Regions from separate parts of the Homo sapiens genome. Here region 1 is linked to region 2. The links are contacts of gene promoters, found by promoter capture Hi-C in human tissues and cell types (Jung and others, 2019). All regions are on one chromosome and are shown on one strand. The core of a region is centred on a gene start or on the middle of the fragment in contact, and the rest is flanking DNA. Distances in the headings are between cores, read along the strand shown.

Region 1 (4,925 bases), core at 2,418-4,917, 58 kb before region 2:
TGTGTTCTTCGTCTACATCTCAAAGTGCCTAGAAAATCCTTAGGGCCAAGGCACGCGGCAGGAAGATTGCTTGATCCTAGGAGTTTGAGGCCAGGCTGGGTAGTATAGCAAGACCCTATCTCTACAGTAATAAAATTAGCCAGGTGTGTTGCTTGCCTGTAGTCTCAGCTACCTGAGAGGCTGAGGTGGGAGGATCATTTGAGCTCAGGAGGTTGAGGCTAGAGTGAGCTGTCATCACACCACTGCACTCCATCCTGTTCCAGAGTAAGACCCTGTCTGAGAAAAGGAAAATCCTTAGGTACAGAGTAGCTATTTACTAAGTACTTAACAGGTTGAATTTTTTTTTTTAGCTCTGTAGTCTCATAGTTTTACCTGGACTGTAGTAAGTAAAGCCACTGGTTAGGTTCTCATGCTTTAGACTTGTGAGGTTATTCCCTTAGAAAATGGTCAAGTTTTATTTGAAGCCAGGTCGTATCAAATCAAAAGGGCTGTTTTCTGGAAAAGACTTCTTTGCCACTAGTAGAGGATGGTATTCAAATACAGTCCTAGTTCAGCACACACATGTATATGCACAAAACAGCAGTGAAAAGGCTTTCTGCCCTATGTATTGCTTTTCTTTTATTGCCGGGAGACCTAAGACAAGATGGGCCTGATAAAACATGGGTTGGAGGACACAGCATTTTATTGGCTGCACGTGTTTGGAAAAGCCCCTTTGAATAGCATGGGTCTGTGCCACAGTCGTAGAGAACTACTTCCGCCTGAGTGTTCACATTAATCTGACAGCAAGTTATATATTCAGATATCCATTCAGGAGTAGCATCCATCCCCTCAGGACCTTTGGCATTACTAGGGTGTTGCATTAGGTAATGTCCAAAGTTTGGTTTTAAGGGGTGGGGAATGGGCCTGGCCTCTAGGTTCTAAAGTTCTAGGGTCACCCTGGCCCCCAGTGTGAGAGCAGTGATCCAAAGTCCCTTTGAGGGCAAACAACAATCTTATGAAAGAGAGAGTGATATTTTATTAAGGAAAATACCCAAGCATCTGACTTTCAGGAGAATTATCAAACACTTCTAAAATATGAAAAGTAACTCCATCAGGGATATTTAATGAAGCAATAGTAAATAGAATACCAGACCCCTAACTTTCCTTGGTCCCACAAATAAAATGGAATGGAATGAAATGAAACAAGAAAGAAGAAAAGGGGAGCTAGTTTTGGATTTTTTTTTTTTTTTTTTTTTTTTTTGAGACAGAGTCTCACTCTGTCACCCAGGTTGGAGTGCAGTGGGATGATCTGGGCTCACTGCAACCTCCACCTTCTGGGTTCAAGTGATTCTCCTGCCTCAGCCTCTGGAGTAGCATGCCCCACCATGCCCAGCTAATGTTGTATTTTTAGTAGAGACAGGGTTTCATCATGATGGGCCAGGCTGATCTTGAACTCTTGACCTGAAGTGATCTGCCCACTTCAGCCACCCAAAGTGCTGGGATTACAGATTCTTAAAGTAGAATTTGAACTGTACATAAATCTCCACTAATTACTCATTCTGAAGGAGGTCTTGTCCTCCCTTTGATAATCTGCGCCAGTGCTCTGTATCTTGATGAATATTCAGTAAACATCATTGCATAGAGAATCAGTATTATAGAGTGGAACTATCTAGTACAGTAGCCACTAGCCACCTGTGGATATTTAAGTTAAAATTAGATTAAATTTAGTTAGAAATGTATTTCCTTAAAAGCACAGGGTCACATTTAAGTGACTGATGGTCACATGTGTCTGGTAGCTAGCACCCTATTGGACAGCACCAATGTACAACATTATTATCATCAGAGAAAGTTCTATTGGACTGTAAGTCCAAGAAATGGTCTTGTGGGGCATGCTTTGTTCCCAAGATTTGATTATTGCATGTGTTGCTTTAAAAAAGGGACAATCCTGGCCGGGGGCGGTGGTTCATGCCTGTAATCCCAGCACTTTAGGAGGCTGAGGCAGGCGGATCACCTGAGGTCGGGAGTTCGAGACCAGCCTGACCAACATGGAGAAACCCCATCCCTACTAAAAATACAAAATTAGCCGGACGTGGTGGCGCATGCCTGTAATCCCAGCTACTTGGGAGGCTGAGGCAGGAGAATTGCTTGAACCCTGGAGGCGGAGGTTGTGGTGAGCTGAGATCGCACCACTGCACTCTGGGCAACAAGAGTGAAACTCCATCTCAAAAAAAAAAAGGAACAGTTCGGACTGTGTGCGTGTGCAATGTCTCACGCCTGTAATCCCAGCACTTTGGGAGGCCTAGGTGGGTGGATTGCTTGGGCTCAGGGGTTTGAGACCAGCCTGGGCAACATGGCAAAACCCGTCTCTACAAAAAATACAAAAATTAGCCGAGCATGGTGGCACATACCTGTGTTCCCAGCTACTCAGAAATCGCTTAAACCCAGGAGATGGAGGTTGCAGTGATCCCAGATCACGCCACCATTGCACTCCTGCCTGGGTGACACAGTGAGTCCCTATCTCAAAGGAACAAATCCGTAAAAACAAATTTCCAAATTCCGTTCGTGATTATCAGTGTGGTTGCCTTTTCATTAATTGTGTTAATTTTCTAGATCCCAAAAGCTCATCTTCAAGGATGACAAGTGCACCCTCCCAACCCCTACAGACGATTTCTCGGAACAAACCTAGTGGGATAACTAGAGGTCAAATTGTGGGGACCCCAGGAAGTTCTGGGGAAACGACTCAACCCATCTGTGTGGAAGCCTTCTCTGGTCTGCGGCTCAGGTCAGTAGCTAAACCATCTATTCATGTGCGCCACGGCATAGCTTTTTGTGCCTCTCGGAGTCCTTTAGAAGTAGTGTGTTTATACATCAGGATCCACAAAACACCAGCAGCTCTTGAACTGGACAAAACACCACTGGAAGACTAGCAGTAGCCCTAGGTTTGACTAAGTACAGTTGCATATAAAATGTTTAAGAAAGACTTTTTCTTGTGTATGTAATCAACAAAGAATCTGTATCTATAAAAAGAAATGGACAAATGATAGTATATTTAATCAGAAATTGACAGATGGAAATAGTAGATTTTTAAAATTTTTCTCCATCTCTATTGAGGTATAATTTAGACTTTTTAAATACACAGACAGTTTAACCAGGATAATATTTATGCAATTAAGCAATTACTGGATTGCTTTGGCTCTTCTGGGTCTTTTGCGGTTCTGTATAAATTTTAGGATCATTTTTTCTATTTCTATTGATTCTTGTAGTTGATGTTAAGAAAAATAGCTATGCTGTTTTTCTTTCTAATAGTCTTTTTAAGGCAAATTTATATTCTTTGCATCTGTTATAGGGATACATTTAAGATAGCCTGTTATAATAGGAATATATTCCAAGCTCAATCCAATTAAAAGCTATATTCAAATCTTGGACTTTTTTCTAACTTTATTTTAATTTTTTTAATTATCTATACTCTGTATCACTACTCCATTGCATCTCCATCATTACATCTGGATAATCCCAGGGCAGAACAGTACTCCTTACTGTGAGACTGGATTGCTTTTAGCACAGTCCATTTGAGGAACCAAGTGAAACCCTCTAAAACTCTGAAACCTTGTCAGTGTAAATATCAGCCAACAACTAAAACTGCTAAGCTCTTAAAGTATATATTATTAGCAGAGGAGAACAAGTGTTGCCAACATACAATAAAAGTGTATTATAAGGCTGGGCGTGGTAGCTCACACCTGCTATCCCAACACTTTGGGAGGCCAAGGCAGGAGGATTGCTTGAAGTCAGGAGCTCGAGACTAGCTGGGGTAACATAGTGAGACCTCATCTCTACAAAAAGTAAATTAGCTGGACACAGTGGTGTGCACCTGTAGTCCTAGCTACCTGGGGGTGCTGAGGCAGGAAGTTCGCTTGAGCCCAGGAGTTCAAGACTGCAGTGAGCTATGATCATACCACTGCACTCCAGCCTGGGCAACAGAACAAGACCTTGTTTCCACAAACAAGAAGTGTCTTGTAAAGAGTTGGTATTCTCCAAAACTGAAGAATGTATTTATATCTTAATTACATCTGAGACAGACTCTAAGAAACAGAATACAGCAGTAGAAGCTGTGGTTCTCATTGAGGGGGCTGCAGGCTTCCTTCTCAAGGTAGAGAATTGCCCCCACCTGAGATGCTACTGCCTGCCCCAGCCATGGCCCACTTGAAGCTCCCTATGGGTAATGAACCATGTTGCTGCTGGTGGGCATTTATTGCACATGTGAATCAGAATTGAGATAGAAGAGACTTAAACTACTCAGCAAAAGCTTCTGAGTGGCTTTTAAATTTAAGGGATCACAGAATTGTTTGGGTCTCTTTGTCATTGTTAAATGTGAACCTCAGGCCTTAAAAATACTCTAAAGGACATATTAATAGAAATTCCCCGACACAGGTCGAGGGTCCCTTATCCAAAATGCTTGGGACCAGAACTGTTTTGGATTTTGGATTCTGGAATATTTACATTTAATAGACTTGCTAGTTAAGCATCCCAAATCTGAAAATCCCAAATCTGAAATGCTGCAGTATTTCCTTTGAGTGTCATGTTTGTGCTCAAAAGTTTTAGATTTTGGAGCTTTTTTTTTTTTTTTTTTTTTTTAATCTATTAACTCATTGTTACAGAAAAAACCCTGGGCTGTATAGAAGAACCTTTCCCTAGCTGGGCATGGTGGCTTACACCTGTAATCCCAGCACTTAGGGAGGCTGAGGGTGGCAGATTGCTTGAGCTCAGGAGTTTGAGACCAGCCTGGGCAACAGGACAAAACCCCATCTCTACAGAAACAAAATTTAGCCCGGTGTGGTGACATGCGCCTCTAGTTCCAGCTGCTTGGTAGGCTGAGTGGGGAAGTCAAGGCTGCAGCGGGCCAAGATTGTGCCACTGCGCTCCATCCTGGACAACAGAGCAAGACCCTA
Region 2 (4,572 bases), core at 1,951-4,450:
AATCAAGTTATCTGTGAACTGGGCTTAGTGCAGATTCCAGACGTCTGGAATGTTTCTTCCCAAACGTCTGCCGTGACCTACTTAGTTGCAGGAAACTTGAGTCTGGCAGAAGGGGTTGGTTATCCCATCCATACCCATGCCCCACCTCTCACTCGGCATTCACACATTTCTCAGAGGGGATTCAGGCTCAGAGATGTGCATGACCTAACAGAGGTCACACAGCAGATTGGGGCAGAGCTAGGGTACCAGGTTCCCACACGCCACTGCTGGCTCAGCTTCCCTCTTCCCACCCACTGTGGGTCCTGATGTTGCTCCAAGCGCCAGAAAGCCGTTGTGGGAGGTGCGGGGGCTTAGGGTTTAGGAAGCAGGTACTTAGTAAGTCACTGCCTATTCCTAAAGAAGCGTCCTCTGTCCCCTGTGTACTCAGGACAGCAAACAATCTTCCCAAGTGGTCTTTTCAGAGGTGTCACAAATTAGAGCTTTGACGTAATGAATAAGAACAATTTAATCCTCAGGACAAGATAGTAATTTTATACTATGTGTCATTCTGTGCATTGTATACGTTTCTTCTCAAGAACATGCATTCATCACACTCTCTTTTCACCCTAAAGTAACTTCACCTTTATCCCAGAGGCTTAGAGATGTCAGATGCCTGTCTCCTGGTTCCAAATTCAAGTTGGCTGAAGTGTCTGTCACCTGCCCTTTATCCAACCTGAGGCATCGCTGGGCACTGCCCTCCTGCTATCCACAGGAGTTGACTGGGTGACAGCAGATGCATTCATGCACAATCCTGGGTGTTCACCAGGCTGTCCTGCACCTCCCATGACTAATTGACACACTGAGCTTCTGTCCGAGGTAAGGCACTTCAGGCTAAATGGTGTAGCTCATTGTTTGGAGTCAGCTTAAGAGGACAGAAGAGGCCATGCGCGGTGGCTCATGCCTGTAATCTCAGCACTCTAAGAGGCCGAGGCAGGGGGGTCACCTGAGTTCAGGAGTTCGAAACCAGCCTGGCCATCATGGCAAAATTCTGTCTCTACAAAAATACAAAAATTAGCAGGCGTGGTGGCAGGCATCTGTAATTCCAGCTACTTGGGAGGCTGAAGCAGGAGTATTACCTGAACCTGGGAGGTGGAGGTTGCAATGAGCCAAGATCCTGCCACTGCACTCCAGCCTGGGCGACAGAGTGAGACTCCATCTCAAAAAAAAAAAAAAAAAAAAAAAAGAGGACAGAAGCTATTTGCCTGGCCTAAAATCATGCCTGTTTCCCCTGGAAGTCTGCCAGAAGATTGCTTCTCCCATTTTAATCAAAAACAGTCCAGCCCCCCTCCCAACCTTTCAGTGCTTCTTGACATTGGCCAACTTTTAAATCTCCAGTTGTATGAGGCCTGGAGGTTTTCCTAGCACGGTTATACTTATTCAATTTTTTTTAAAAAAAGAAATTTCATCTCCAAGCATTTCTATCTCTGTTCTTCCCATCATTTGAAAACAGTCCTGTTATTTTTACCAAGCAAGTCACCTTGCTGAGTGCCCTGAAGAATACAAAGAGTTCATTCACCCACAGGCACGAGGAGGAAAGACTCAAGCCAGAGACTCGGGAGATACTGTCTGAGCTCAGCATCTTGGAAGAAGCAGGTTCAGGAGTAGAAACTCAAATGCCCTCAGGGGTTGGCAGGTGAAGGGCATGAGGACCCTGAAGCCGGGGCTCCACAGGCCCTACAGCAGGCTGTGCAACAGACAGGCTCACCCCAATGTGTTGAAAATGAAAACTTAAAAAAAAAAAAACCTCTGCTGGCTGAACACAGCTCTTTCAGAGGCTTATAAATAAGGAAATTAGGACCAGAGGGAGGAAGTAGCCAAGGCCACTTAGCAGCACAGCTGTCCCCAGACCCACATTTCTCAGCACCCAGTGTCCTGTGCCTTCCCCATGTGCGATGCTGTTGCTCTTATACAGAAGGTGTGCTGGACCAGTACCCGCAAAGCACACACTGATGTGTGGGTCGCCTCCAGACCAGAATATAGATTTCCCTCCCTACACCTTTCTGAAATCCAATGCATCTTATCCCTGTTAGGTGTGTTTAATGTAGCATCATGGCCAAGAAGCAGGACAAGAGGACCTGTCTCCAAGTCATCTTTGCAGAGGTGGGGCCTCCTAACCCTGACAAAGTATTCAATCCAATATACGACCTACAGTCAGGAAATAGGGTGTAATTTCTCATTCAGAGCTGCAGTCCCTTTGATACCCTGGGGTGAGCCCTTCGTGCCCAGCTGCATCCTGCTGCCCGGCTGACTGTGGGAGAGGAGGAGCCGGGGGGTGTGAGCAGAGGTGGTGATGGACGCGGGATGGGGTCCCTCCAGCATCCTTACCATTGACCTCATCTCTGGACTTGGGGGACCGCTTGCCGCGCCTCTTGAGGAAATTCGAGGCATCTGATTCCTGCATGAAAATCTTCTGTTTTGCATCTGAAACCCGGGAGAGGCCTGTCACCAGCAGTGTGGGGGTGCTGGGGCTGCTGCTTCGCTGGCTGCACCTGCCCTGCCCCGTGGGTGGCCCCTGCACTCACCTTCACTCGCCTCTTCTCCCGCCATCTGCATGGTGCCCACAGATACACTGGTTCCCTCTCTCAGCACTGCAGGACAAGGGCACAGAGTGAGGCTGCAGCATCAGAGGGGAGCCCAGACCCTGAGCTGAGTCCCCATCTCTCTTTCCAGGCTAAGCGTCCTGCCAGGGCCTGGCAGGGGGCCCGTGGTTTCTCACGTACCAGCTGCAGAGCCAATCTCCCCAGGAACCCACCAAGCAAGCTGGCTTGGGTTTTTTTTCTATTTTGTTTCTTTCTTTACTGTTTTTTATTATTATTATTATTTTTCTGTATTGCATTGTGTCCTACATGCACACGACACACACATACACACATGTTAACAATAAGCATACTCCTTTCTACCTGCATCACCTGAGCAGCCTTACCTGTGCATGGTAAGTCTCCCTTACCATGTAACTAACACCCTCCACCTTGACCCTCCTGTACTCACTAGACAGGAGCACCACGGCGGAGAAGCAAGACAGCAGGACGGCCTGTCTCCAAGTCATCTTTGCAGAGGTAGGGGCTCCGTCCAGGACCCACAAGGCAGACCAGGCGTCCTGCACCCTTTGGGTCCCCACTTCTGAGGCAGGCAGCCCAGGCGAGAGGAAGGAAGGCGGGGGAGGGAAGAGAGAGGCAGGAGGCTGGGATACCACTGGGGGAGAGGAGGAGGGGGCTGGGCTGCCCTTTCCATTGGCTGCTCCTAGATGGAGCAACGGAGATGTTTTTGGCACCTGGCAAATGTCTCCAGAAGCAGAGCTTGTAGTTAGGGCCCTGGGTGGGACGGTCTTGGAGTGGCCTTTCCAATGTCCGTGTCTGGGGATCTGCTGCTGGGAAGGCTCATCCTAACAGTCAGGGTTCCAGTGACCAAGGCCTGTGTCAAGGAGGTCCTGGCACCTGCTCCAGGGACGTTAGGGCCCCGGTCCTCAGGGTTGAAGCATGGGTGGGGGCAAGGAGGAAGAGAGGATCAATGGGGGAGTTTTGATCTAAATGTCAGTCAAGAAGGGCTCATAATGACTGGAATACCCATCAGGGTGACACACAGACGTGTGGGTCATGCTGACAGCGACCAGAGAACACCTTACCTGATGCACTGCTTCCAGCTGATGCTCACTGCCAAGCCAAACACAAACTCCTGGGGCCGCGGGTCCCAGAGCCCTTTAAAGTCAATTGCCTTCCCGCGGTGGCTCATGCCTGGAACCCCTGCACTTTGGGAGGCCGAGGCAGGCAGATCACCTGAGGTTAGGAGTTCGAGACCAGCCTGGCCAACACGGTGAAACCCTGTCTCTATTAAAAATAAAAATAAACAAATTAGCCGGGCATGGTGGCGGGCGTCTGTAATCCCAGCTACTCAGGAGGCTGAGGCAGGAGAATCACTTGAACCCGGGAGGCAGAGGTTGCAGTGAGCCGAGACCGCGCCACTATACTCCAGCTGGGGTGACAGAGCAAGACTCAGTCCCAAAAAAAAAATACATATAAAATAAAATAAAATAAAAATTTAAAAGTTAAAAACAGCGGCCGGGCACGGTGGCTCACGCTTGTAATCCCAGCACTTTGGGAGGCAGAGGTGGGCGGATCATGAGGTCAGGAGATCGAGACCACGGTGAAATCTCGTCTCTACTAAAAATACAAAAAAAATTAGCCGGGCGTGGTGGCGGGCACCTGTAGTCCCAGCTACTCAGAGAGGCTGAGGCAGGAGAATGGCGTGAACCCGGGAGGCAGATCTTGCAGTGAGCCGAGATTGCACCACTGCACTACAGCCTGGGTAACAGAGCGAGACTCCATCTCAAAAAAAAAAAAAAAAAAAAAATTTAAAAACAGCAAGGCCAAATTCAATCACCTTCCACAGCGGAGGGGGAGAAGGGCAGGTATCTGAAAAGCTCCACAGCTAATCCTGCATCTCTAGGAAGACACACATCATACTCCATGTAGGGGAGGAAATGGGTTCCCAGAAATGGGACCACTAATGAAATCAGCACCAACATGGCCATTAGAG

The links. Contacts are between HindIII fragments. The study calls those that stand out against the background at their distance.
Region 1: a contact is called between a fragment that was not itself captured here and the fragment with the promoter of UCMA in region 2, in 1 of the 25 tissues and cell types used here (mesenchymal stem cells).

Annotation. Positions count from the first base shown.
Region 1 is chr10:13,172,921-13,177,845 of GRCh38, forward strand. It overlaps MCM10 (minichromosome maintenance 10 replication initiation factor), which reads left to right. Exons shown (of 20, transcript NM_018518.5): 6 at 2,590-2,761. Among named protein-coding and RNA genes, the nearest start is that of MCM10, 14 kb to the left of the region's middle. RefSeq lists an enhancer at 769-1,063. The HindIII fragment of the contact is 4,349 bases long and covers 1,494-4,925 here.
Region 2 is chr10:13,231,174-13,235,745 of GRCh38, forward strand. It overlaps UCMA (upper zone of growth plate and cartilage matrix associated), which reads right to left and starts at 3,201. Exons shown (of 5, transcript NM_145314.3): 1 at 3,028-3,201; 2 at 2,562-2,627; 3 at 2,365-2,460. The coding sequence starts at 3,085. RefSeq lists an enhancer at 2,904-3,814. The HindIII fragment of the contact is 17,086 bases long and covers 1-4,572 here.